Linked DNA regions of Homo sapiens: all the other regions are linked to region 1. Evidence: promoter capture Hi-C in 16 types of primary human blood cells and fetal thymus (Javierre and others, 2016). All regions are on one chromosome and are shown on one strand. The core of a region is centred on a gene start or on the middle of the fragment in contact, and the rest is flanking DNA. Distances in the headings are between cores, read along the strand shown. Region 1 holds the start of SLC6A5 (solute carrier family 6 member 5). Region 2 has its middle 4.8 kb from the start of HTATIP2. Region 3 overlaps HTATIP2 (HIV-1 Tat interactive protein 2). Region 4 overlaps PRMT3 (protein arginine methyltransferase 3).

The links. The method cuts DNA at HindIII sites, captures the fragments that hold promoters and counts their contacts. A CHiCAGO score of 5 or more calls a contact.
Region 2: a contact is called between a fragment that was not itself captured here and the fragment with the promoter of SLC6A5 in region 1, in 1 of 17 cell types (erythroblasts). The highest score is 7.1, in erythroblasts.
Region 3: a fragment that was not itself captured here is called in contact with the fragment with the promoter of SLC6A5 in region 1 in 1 of 17 cell types (erythroblasts); the score reaches 5.7 in erythroblasts.
Region 4: a fragment that was not itself captured here is called in contact with the fragment with the promoter of SLC6A5 in region 1 in 1 of 17 cell types (erythroblasts); the score reaches 5.6 in erythroblasts.

Annotation. Positions count from the first base shown.
Region 1 is chr11:20,598,057-20,601,072 of GRCh38, forward strand. It overlaps SLC6A5 (solute carrier family 6 member 5), which reads left to right and starts at 1,552. Exons shown (of 16, transcript NM_004211.5): 1 at 1,552-1,619. The coding sequence starts at 1,617. The HindIII fragment of the contact is 1,386 bases long and covers 834-2,219 here.
Region 2 is chr11:20,357,455-20,360,470 of GRCh38, forward strand. No RefSeq gene overlaps it. Among named protein-coding and RNA genes, the nearest start is that of HTATIP2, 4.8 kb to the right of the region's middle. The HindIII fragment of the contact is 7,195 bases long and covers 1-3,016 here.
Region 3 is chr11:20,378,305-20,381,320 of GRCh38, forward strand. The region is part of intron 3 of HTATIP2 (HIV-1 Tat interactive protein 2); the gene reads left to right. Among named protein-coding and RNA genes, the nearest start is that of PRMT3, 7.9 kb to the right of the region's middle. The HindIII fragment of the contact is 276 bases long and covers 1,407-1,682 here.
Region 4 is chr11:20,409,634-20,412,649 of GRCh38, forward strand. The region is part of intron 9 of PRMT3 (protein arginine methyltransferase 3); the gene reads left to right. Among named protein-coding and RNA genes, the nearest start is that of PRMT3, 23 kb to the left of the region's middle. The HindIII fragment of the contact is 1,613 bases long and covers 584-2,196 here.

The DNA of each region.
Region 1 (3,016 bases), core at 302-2,801:
GCTCAAAACTGCAATAAAAAGCGACCTGAAATCCTCAAGGCGTCTCAAAAGAAAGATCTCCTCCTCCTGCCCCCACCAAAGGCAATGCAGACCGTGTGTCCCCAGCCAGCTGCCCTTTAGAGGGGCTAGGCGGGAAAGCCAACCAGCGGAGGCATCCAAACACTCTCGGGCTCTCCAGAGGAGCAGGAGGGTGCCCCTTAGTGCCCCCGGCGCCCGCCGCAATCTGCCACTGCAGCCTACGCCTGCGGCCGCGGCCGCCGCGGCATTGTCCTCCCGCCGCGTGGGACGGCCCAGCCGCTGGCGACGGCGCGCACCCCGAGGCAGTGGGCTGGGCTGTTGGCAGTAGGGAAGGGAAAACGTGCTGTCTGTGGCTCCTCATCCCCGAGGCCAGGGGTTCCCCGAGCTAGACCGGCAAGGAAGGAGAGAAGGGAAGCATTTTGCTGATAATCCCCTTCTAGTCTCCAAACTACACCTTCTTTGTAAAGGCGTTTTTTCCTCTTCTGATTATAGCTATTGCATTGTACACACAACAAGAAAGTCCATCTTTTTATCGCCATGGCCACCCCCACTCCCATCCCCGCCACAGTACGGTTGAACATCCTGGCATGGCTTTGCAGATTGCCAGCTCTCATTCCCCCTCCCCCGCATTGCTGGGCATCCCGATTTGGACGGTCTCTAAGGTCCCGCGCTGCCAAATCAGGCCTGGCTCTTGTAGGATTTTATTGAAAGGACTGTAAAGAAAGAATGGGTTTCCCTTGACTTTGAAAGTGACCTAAGAACTAGGTCTGTGTTGGAAAAACTTCGTTTTTCTTTCTCTAAAACGTCTTCAGAAAAGCTTAAAAATACAATGAAAAAGGTCAGTTATACTCAGAATTTTCTCTTGATTGTGATAACAGAAATAGGAACGGAAATACCAGATCACAATTTTTAAGCAAAAACCCCAGGATTCCTCCAAGACTGACTGTCTGGAAGGGTAGGGATGTGAGAATCTGAAGTCCACATACATGCTAGGTAGGTACACCTTGATAAATGCAGGACCCATGCCTGCTTCAGTCATCGCAGAGCTGTGGGGCTATGCGCAGACCCTCAACCTCTTTCGGAGTAATATTTTCGGAATCCCTGAAGATAAGGGGGGACAGCAATGGAATCTAGTGAAAGGGAAAGAATAGACAGTGATTTAACCCCCTCCTTCCTCCTCTACAGCCCGATCCACTCTGTTGGCGGCTGCGCCTTGCCTTGGGTGCAGTGGGACGTGTCCCTCCCATGTTTCCCTTAATTAGGAGGAGGCAAACTTCTGTCTTCCCCTCCTGCCGGTTTCGGTTTAGTAATCAGACCACATGAGTCACGCCAAACACGCAGCCCCCTCCCGCTGGAGTGACAACTGGCCAGCATACTCTAGGCTGTTGTCCCTTTAAAACTTGAATCCAAGGGGGTAATGATTTATCAAACTTGTATTATCAAGAAAATGTCAAACCAAGGGCACCTTGCTTTGCACTGACGCAAACCCGGCCTTTCCCAAGGAGATATAGAAAGCGCCTCTCCTGCCTGAGCCAAACCCAGTCTTGTCAATAGCGGGTTTCACCCTCCACCAGTTCAGTCTGTTGCCTGTGTCAGACATGGTGAGTGTTTGCTTTTGTTCTTTCAAGAGGAAAGGGGGCTGAGGGGACAGGGAAAGCAGATTCGTTTTGGCTATTTCTTTTGGAGATGTCTGTGCATTGGGTGGGGGGAAAGGGGGCGACGAGGAGAACAATTCTCGCAGCCCTAGGTATTTGTACTTGTGAGCGTCACCTGAGGTCGCAAAGAGGTTTCCTAGGCTGTAGAGCTGAGAGGTTGGCTGTGGCTCCTAAAGACCCGATCCCGGGCACTGTCCTCGGTGCTGAAAAGCCAGATGCCGGTACAGAGGCGAGTTGCTCTGGGTCCTAGAGGCTACTGAGACAAATGCTGGCTGAAGCCGAGGTACCTAGATTTGTGCAAATCGAGGAGTTCTATTCTGCGTGTTTGTGAAAGGGGGTTAGACGAGAGGAGTGCGGTGGAGGCGAAGATAATAGGATTATTCTTACAGTGTAATAATAATTATTGGTGCTAATGTTTAGGAAGCCGTGAAAGATAACACGAGGGGAGAAAGTGGATAGAAAAACCACCGCTGGCAGTTCTTTTCATTTGAAAGTGAATTGGGAAAAAGCGAATAAAAATTAGTCATGAGTTTTGGTACTCAAGCAAGCTTAGAGTTGTGAAGGATATTAGACTCCTGTGAATAGTTACGCAAAAAAGAAGAAGAGGAAGAAGAAGAAGAAGAAGAAGAAGAAGAAGAAGAAGAAGAAGAAGAAGAAGAAGAAGAAGAAGAAGAAGAAGAAGACCTAAACAAAAGAACAAAAAGCTTTGCATATTCTTTTCCATGTCTGGGAATCTGGAAGTGAATACGAGTTGTGTAAGATAACAAATCTAGTTACTACTCTGTGTCTTAAATTTAGTTTATTATCGTTGTAGGTTTTTTTGTGGTTATTTTGATCGTGATTCTTAACCTTGTCTTTGCTACCTGGCGGGAGGAGGTGGGTTGTGGAGCGCTGGGACTCAACCAATTTGGCCTCAAGCGCTCGCAGGTGCCAGGGCATCAGCTTTGTGGCCACAGCTTGTCTATGGGGGAAAAAGGCAGTGTGCATTGTTGAATGACAAAGGAAATGGGGCGGAAAATTAAAGAATCTTTCTACAGTGGTGATGGGGATGCGGGCACCCACAGCTGTGATGTGGAATCCAAAGAGGGAGGGGAGCTCATGACTCCAGGGCTATTTCCATTCCCCCTTTACCCTTACAAAATTACATTTCTACCTCTTTTCTTAGTTCATCCTCCACTAGGGAGGGAATATTAGCTTCTTTTTGTCATCTGGTTATTGATGAAACGGGCAAATTGAGAAATACTGATTGCAGCCTTTCTTTTAAAAAAAGTTCAGATTCCAATTTGCTTCCCCAGATATTGTGTCTGGACCTGAGTTGCGAACGTCTCCATATCTAGATACAG
Region 2 (3,016 bases), core at 276-2,775, 240 kb before region 1:
ATCATGTGTATCAGTTTGGGTCCTGGCAAGAAACAGAGAACATGTTCCAACAGAGTAACTGAGGGAGAATTTAGTGAAAGATTATTTACAAGGAAGCAGGAAGGGTTAAAGAAAACCCAACAAGGAATGGTGCTGTGTCTCAGTGCTAGCAATAGCGGGGAGCCATTTCTACTCCTAAGTCTAAAAGGTTGAGGCAAGGAGGTGGTTACTGGAACCTGGAGAGAGTGCCTGCAGCTGTCAGGGAGGCTATCAGACAGGAGTGAGGCTCTTGGGTCGAGGAATAGCAATCTCATAGCAGGAATTCAGGGGAATAAAGCCCCTAACCCCATACTCCTCCTCTGCTTCAATTTCCTACTGGTGACTCTTATCACCAAGGTAGGTGATAGGTCAAGGAGGACAAGGTAGACTGGGTGATGCAGGCCTTAGAGGTCAGCTGTGGAGTCACAGAAAAGGATACAGAGAGTGGAAAGTGGATCTGGAGGGGCAAATGAAAAATGTGCCTGTAATCCCAGTACTTGGGAGGCTGACACAGATAATTACTCGAGCTCAGGAGTTCAAGACCAGCCTGGGCAACATGACAAAACCCTGTTTCTGGAGAAAAAAAAAAAAAAGATGCGTGTCTGTAGTCTCAGCCACACGGGAGGCTGTGGGAGCTTGAACCCGGGAGGCAGAGGTTGCAATGAGCTGAGATCATGCCACTGCCCTACAGCCTGGGCGACAGAGCAAGATCATATCTCACAAAAGAAAGAAAAAAGAAAAATGCCCAACATACCAGTGTTTCCCAAACTTTACTCCTTCAGATACTATTTTCATGAGTTTACCATATCCTATGTTTACAATACACTCAGCTGTACTTAATATTTTATGAAAACGTCCTCTTTTTTTTTAAACTTTGTTAAATGTACTACTAGTAACAGGTACTAATAAATGTATTAATGGTAATTAAGGTAATATTTCACTACCTTGAATAGAAGAAAACCATAAAAAATAAATCTAATAAAATCAAGTTTGCTAAATTTTAAAACCTAAAATTTAACAATAATTATAAATGATAATGTATCTTATGATGTCCTTCACAGGCTGGTCCCTACCTGCCTCTCTAGTCTCCCCTCCCCTGCCCTGCCCCTGCCCCATGCTTCCATCTCTCCATTTCAAGCATATTGGTTTTTGGCCCTTCAAAACCAGCCATACTTCTACCTACCACAGTGCTTTTACATAGGTTATTCCTTTGGTATATATCAGTAAGAGGACATACCCATGAGTGCTAGGGAACCTGAAGAATTTAACAAATACAGTGCTATCAGCTAAAAACAAGAAGAATTATGCTTTCCTGAAAACATTCTAGAATTACACAGGTATTACTCATGATTTTGTCATTGATCTGGATATCCAGGTTCTTGTCCTGGCACCAAAGTTGAATCCCAAGATCTTAGATGATATATTTAATAAACGTGTGACTCAGTTTCTCCATCTATAAAAACAATTAGCTATCAAGAACACGATAGATACACTAAATCAACTACCTAAACTGTTGAATGCAATTCATGGTTGTATTTGTTATGTGAGAGCAGAAAATTACAATACTTTCTTTCAGACACCTACCTTTACCAAATCCAACCTCTTATGTGCCCAACCAGATATCTTAGTCATGCTACAGTTATTTAAAGCTCTCATTTGTTAAAAAAAAAAAAAAATTATCTAGCATTCATATTTACAAATAAATGAGATAAATGGGGAACAAGTATAGCCACTTTAGATGCTATTTAACATCCGTTCTGTTTTCTTTCTATAATAGTGACCTCTACTTTCCTTGGGGACCTTACTTCCTCCCCTACTCCCAGACATGTGGGAAGAGATAGCCCCACCCGGCTTCATTCCCAGAGCCACAGTGACAATCATAAGGTTTAATCAGAACTAAGGAGATACAGCTGGGGACTTCTGCTTACAGTTATGCTCTTTCTACTGGACTTGAATCTAGGGGGATGTACTTGATAGCTTCAATCATCCATTCTCCTCATTTATCTACCTTATTGTATGCCCTGAAGAAAACTGGTCTGCACAATATAAGTTCCCTCTAGCTTCTGGTTGAATTTAGACAATGAAGAGTATGAGCAAGAGCACAGCCTTTGGGTCATCTTGCAGGGTCTGAGAGTAAGGCCGACGTGAAGGGAAATAGAGCCATGGTTGGCAGAGGGACTGGGTCCTGGCCCCATTGGCTGACTGGCTGATTCTGGTCATGCCAAGACTATTATATACACTGATTCTTTAGTTGCATGAGCCAGGACATTTCCTTTTTTTTTTTCCTCAAAACATTTTGAGTTTGGGGCTTCAAACACGTGAAACAGAGTCTTAATGAAGGTATAACTAAAAATATAGCTCTGAAGTGAAGATGCATGGATCCCTGATCCTGAGGACTCTAAATCTGACCTAAATACAGTTCCAGTCTCCCTAAGGCCCCATCCTACAGCAGATCCTGTTTTGAGATTTCTCTGAGATTCTGTCTCTCTTATACATGATTTATAGCCTTACAATATTACAATATTCACCATCTTTACTCGCCATGAGTCAGTTTGTTCCTTGGAGCAAAGCGAATGTAATGAAACAGTTCCCATCTTACAGATAGGGAAATGGAGGCCAAGATATATGAAGAGACTTCATCAAAGGCAAACCTGAACGTGGCAGGCAGGTCTCTGGCCAAGGATCTTTCCATGCCAGCTCCGTTTCTTTATGTCCCCTTTCCCTCCTTCCCTATGCTTTCCCCTTCCCCTTTGCCCTGAATTTTTGTGGTCCGGTTGCTCTAGGAGCCTAGGTCTTGTCACATTATCTCAGCACTTGGATGACATGGTTCCAGCTGTCAGAGAAGGAAAGGCATGGACTTGTTTTTCTCTGAGTTTCCTTCTATTTCTGTATGCTCATTTGGCCTTCAGCATGTGCCACCCTGTGAAAGTTTGGGGGATGTTTTATAATGTTGCTTAACTTTATTTAGCTTCCCAAGTATTTATGACTTGCCTTCAAG
Region 3 (3,016 bases), core at 295-2,794, 220 kb before region 1:
GTTTTCCTTTTTTTTTAGAGTCAAAGTCTTGCTCTGTCACCCAGGTTGAAGTGCAGTGGTGCGGTCACAGCTCACTACAACCTCAGATTCCTGGGCTCAAACAATCTCCAGCCTCAACCTCCTGAGCAGCTGGGACTACAGGCATGAGGGATCAGGCCCAACTTGTTTTTTAAAACACTGACACATGTGGGTTCTGAGAAAGGTTATCAAATAGGATTTTTGCTCTCATTAGCAAGATCAACATTTATACCTTTTAGGAAAGAAAATATACATAAGATATTTCCTCATTGTTAAAGATAAAGGCGTTACTACTGACTCACTGGGTTATAATAATGATTTAACCAGATTTTTAAAAAAATAGCTAACACTAAATGAGCCAGGCAGTATTCTGAGGGCTTTTATGTGCATTTGCGTGGAAACAGGTACTGTGATATTAAGACCACCAGCTGTTGGCTGGGCACGGTGGCTCACGCCTGTAATTCTAGCACTTTGGGAGGCCGAGGTGGGAAGATCACTTGAGGCTGGGAGTTTGAAACCAGCCTGGGAAACGTGGCAAAACCCTGTCTGTACTAAAAATACAAAAATTAACTGGCACAGTGGTGTATGCCTGTAATCCCAGCTACTCGGGAGGCTGAGGCAGGAGAATTGCATGAACCCGGGAAGCAGAGGCTGCAGTGAGCCAAGATCACATCACTGCACTCCAGCTTGGGGACAGAGTGAGACTCTGTCTCAAAAACAAAACAAAACAAAACAAACAACAACAACAACAACAACAACAAAAACACCAGCTGTTAAGCGGCAAAGCTAGAGCTTGAACCCAGGCTGATTCCAAGGCCTATGCCACTAGCTATTAAGTAATGAATAGCCTTTGTCACTAATACATGCAAAAGGGACCCAGCAGAGATTGGACCGTGACAGAGCCTCAGCAAATATTAAGGCCAATACAACGGAAAGACACTTCTGATTTCACTGCAATTGGCCTGCATTACCTGCAGCCTGGGATTATGAATTAGATTAATAAAGGACAGAAATGACAACCAAATGATCCAACCCAGAATGACGCTGAACAATATATAATTGCTTTTACAATTTGGAAAGATTATCTTTCCAAAATAATCCTTCAACTACTGTGTGTAACATTCCTAGTATTTATTGCCTATTTTCTCAGCCTCCATGTGTGTATGAACTCCCCCGCCCCACCCAATTTTAGAAACTCCTTTATTGTTTAGGAACATTTATTCTACTCAATGAAGTTTCAATTGCATTCATTCATGGTGGGCCAGCTCTGGGGGCTTGGATCAATCATGTGCTTTATGGGCATTCTGCTGGTGCCGTGGGGAGACGTGTCAGGATGTGGAGCCCAGAGTACTGGATGGGCCTCATGTCCTCTGTTCTCAGGGTTTATAAGCTTTGGTTTCCTCATCTATTCAGGGTGAAGGTATACTTTCCAGACATGTGACATTTTATTATTGGGTATCATCCTTGACCTCAAGGAGTTTATAATCTGCTTGTATTGAGGGATCCTCAAAGACACCCCCAAGTTTGGTAATTCACTAGAAGGTTTCATAGGACTCAGCATATAGTCATACTCACAGCTACAACTTATCGCATTGAAAGGATATAGAGCAAAATCAGCAAAGGGAAAAGGTGTGTCGGGTGAAGTCTGGAGGAAAGTAGGTACAAGCTTCCAAGAGGCCTCTCCCCATAGAGCTTGCACAGGATGTGCTTAATGTCTCCAGCGATGAACGTTTTCTGCCAGAGAAACTCATCTGAGCCTAGGAATGCAGGGTTTTTATGGGAGCCAGTTACATAGGCACATTGGCCTAGCCAAATTGCAGCCCTCCAGAAGAAAGGCAAGTTTTCAGCATAAACCACATTGTTTGTACAGACAGTTTAGGCATAGTACATGACCCTTATCAGATAGGGAATGGTGGGAACACACCGAAAATCCAAGGTTGCAAGCACAAGCCAGGGGCCAAACTTGTAACAGGCCTTTCTAAGGATAGCAGTCTCAGCCTGCTATGGTATCTCTTTTATGCACACTGCTAATAGAGACAAAACAAATCTTTTAAAAAGCTAAGAAATGGGCTGGGCGCGGTGGCTCACGCCTGTAATCCCAGCGCTTTGGGAGGCCGAGGCGGGCGGATCACGAGGTCAGGAGATTGAGACCATCCTGGCTAACACGGTGAAACCCCGTCTCTACTAAAAATACAAAAAATTAGCCGGGCGTGATGGCAGGTGCCTGTAGTCCCAGCTGCTCGGGAGGCTGAGGCAGGAGAACGGCATGAACCCGGGAGGCGGAGCTTGCAGTGAGCTGAGATTGCGCCACTGCACTCCAGCCTGGGCGACAGAGTGAGACTCCATCTCAAAAAAAAAAAAAAAAAAAAGCTAAGAAATGTGTGTACACATAAAATCTTGTGTATGACTGTTCATAGCAGCATTATTTATAATGGCCAAAGAGTGGGAACAACCTAGATAGCCATCGACTGATGAATAGATGAATAAAATGTGATATATTCATGCAATAGAATATTATTCAGCTATAAAAAGAAATGATACATACTACAACATGGGTGAACCTTGAAAATATTATGCTAAGTGTGAGGAGACAGTCACAAAAGACCACGAATTATATGATTTCATTTATATGAAATGTCCAGAATAGGCAAATCTATAGAGATAGAAGGTACATTAGTGGTTGACTAGGTCCCCAGAGGGTAGGGTACGAGGAGTGACTGCTAATGATATGGGATTTCTTTTCAGGGTGATGAAATATTTTAAAACTTAGATCGTGATGAAGGTTACAGAGTTCTGTGTATATACTAAAAACCACCTATTAAAAAAAAAAGAATGGCCAAGCGCGGTGGCTCTCGCCTGTAATCCCAGCACTTTGGGAGGCTGAGGCGGGTGGATCACTTGAGGTCAGGAGTTCGAGACCAGCCTGGTCAACATGGTGACAACCCCGTCACTACTAAAAATACAAAAATTAGCCAGGCATAATGGCGGATGCCTGTAA
Region 4 (3,016 bases), core at 140-2,639, 190 kb before region 1:
TTTTTGTATTGGAATACACAAACACACACACACACACACACACACACACACACACACACGTTGCATTTGCAATTATAGAATTACACATACATATATATAGATAGATATCTAGTCAAGCTTTTTCTAGTTCTTATGATACCATTAAGTACAACATGATCATTTTGGGGGTTCCATAGAGAGTACCCTCAATTGCTTATTCATTGCCATCCAAACAAATATGAGAACCACTGTCCCAAAGAAGAGATTGTTTTAGAAGAATTCTCAAAATTTTATTGTTGATAGTAAAATTATGGTGAGCTATTTCTACTAGAATTTCTAGTCTTATGAAAGCTATTTCTACTAGAATTTCTAGTACATTTATGAGTTAGTCATTGTTTTTTACGATAAAATGGGACTAGATGTGCTCTCATTTTAATTTCTTAACTCTATGAAAGAAATGTAAAGGAATTATAATACATTGTTTCATTTTATTTTACAGAAGTCCTGATTCCCATTGTCTTTGTAGAAACATGTTTATGTAATGATTACACCTAAAATTCATCGTTTATAATATTAATATTTAGTGCTAGGGTGTTCATGTCCAAGCTTCTTAGTAAAATATTTAAAATGTTTCTGACATATACATTTAACATTCAATTACTTAATGAGGAAAATGTTTTCTGACAAATTATTGCTAGAAGGAAATTAATTTTCAGTCCTTTTTTCATTGCGGTCATCTAAACACTTCGTGATATATTACTTTTGATCTAGAGTTACAGTTTTGGAGGAACGAGACACTGGAATTAAATGTGTTTCTGGTATATTGATGAGCTCCCAGCGGAAACAATTTCTAAAAAAAATTATATTTTATGATTTTTCAAAATAAATAGGTAGTTGTGTAAATCTTATAATTTAATACCAGTATTAAAAACCTTGAAAATATTTAAAAATATTATTTAAAGATATTCACAGTAATTCTATCCAGATTTAAGAACAATTTTTTTTCTGCCCACATAATCCTAAATATTTTTATTAGTTAGAAGACCTTCTAAAGTATATTTGTCACTGGTGCAGAGCCCAGAATAATTTGGGATTAATAGTCTTTGTTTTTAAAGTCTCCGGGAAAGCTACCAACTTACTTTTAATCAAAGGATGGGTGTCAATTTGCATCTATTAGTATTTTTTCTGTTAAGATAGCATCTTCTACATCAGTGGGCAAAAATAGAAGTGTGAAAGAAATATGTCCCTGATTCAGCAAGTGACATCTGCAGTCACAAAGGAGTGCTTTTCCATGTACTCAAATACAATAAATTGCTCCTCCCTTCTCATCTTTAGATCTTTCACTTATAAAGCCAGAGCTAACAGAATGTCTCTTTAGCAATACTTACAGGATTCGATACAAAGATGTTTTTGAGATAACTTAAAGTTAACTCAGCTAAGTAAGCACATAACTAAAAGTATTTTAACAAGATTTTTATATAGTAATAATGAGATTTAAACCCAGCAATCTAGCATAATAGCTTTTCATTAAAATTATTAGGGTTCAAGATACCTAAGACCTAAAATTTGAGCTCTGTCAGTTTCTTAGGATAAAATAGGTAGAGACATGTGACTTATTTGGATAAGGATCCTCTGTCTGTAATCATTGACTCAAAATACTTGTCTTCAGTCTTTTCTGTGTGTATTTTTGGAAAGGGAGTCTGATCATTTTGTCAGCCAGATTTTTGAATCTCGAACACTAATTTTAATGTAGTGAAGTAGGAAGTACATATGTCAAACTAGTCTTTGCTGTGTCAAATATTTTATGCTTACCAATGTTTATTCTCTCAATCTTGTAAAGTGTCATTTTTGTAAGATTTCCTGCTAGCTCCAAAGTATATCTAGAATCTTTGCTTGAGTGTCAGATGTAGTTATAGGAAGGAAGCATAGATAAGAAGTGCAGTGAAGAAATCAAAATCAGTTTCACTACTGCAAATAATTATTTTCTTGCTGTAATGTTAGCAGTCAGAGAAATAGCATTTGTGACAAAGATCACTACTAACCATGGAGAGTATAACAAAATGACTAAAACTTAAGTTTATATTCAGTTAAAGTACCAATTTAGCTAAGTGAACATTTTGCATAGAGCACATATTTACTATAAATAGGCTTTTGCAAAAAATAATCACATTTTAAAAAATAGTTTTAAAACATTGCACATGAGAGCATATACCTAGAAGCTTAGTGAGGAAAAGTTTTATTATACAGCAGGTTCACAGTTGATTCAGAGGGAACAGCCATGTATTGTGACTTTGTGATAATGGATTTTTAACAAAACAAATTGTATCCACATAAGACTTGTTTTTTTCTAATTATCTATAAAGCTCCTGCATATGTTATTTTCCCCCTTTGTACAGTGTGGAAATTGAACAAGTAGATGTATTTAAAGGACTAAAGAAGCAGACTTATTATTATCTCACAGTTTTTAGTACTAATGACCAAGCTTGTACTCTAGTTGCTTGTTGAATGCTTTGTCACTCAATTCCTAGTTTTCTTTTCAGATGGAAACTATCAAAGGCTATAGTTGTTATTATCAAGATCCAGTGATATTTGTGTAGACCTTTTTGTCTTACCTCATGCTAGATGGCCATGTTTAAGATTCATTATAGACATTATTTTTGCCAATCATTACTAGAGTCATGGTCATCAGAGCAGAGGGAAGCATTTGTTCACCAGATCCATTTTGCAAAAATATGAATTTTTAAAAATCTGTTCACAAAACTGTTGAACAGCTATGTAGTCTGAACCCCCCCCCCACCTTTGTTTTGAAGTATCAGAGAGTTCCTTAAAAGGATTTTTGAAATTTTCAGCCATACATGACAGTAGAGAGAATGATATGAATTCCTGTGTGCCTATCACCCGCGTCTACATTTATCAATTTTTCACGATTTTTTTTATACATTTCCCTCCCACCTTTTTTGTTTTGTTTTTGTTTTTGTTGGAGTATTTTAAAGTGAAACTTATACATTATATCAGTAAATGTGTCCTAATACATTTG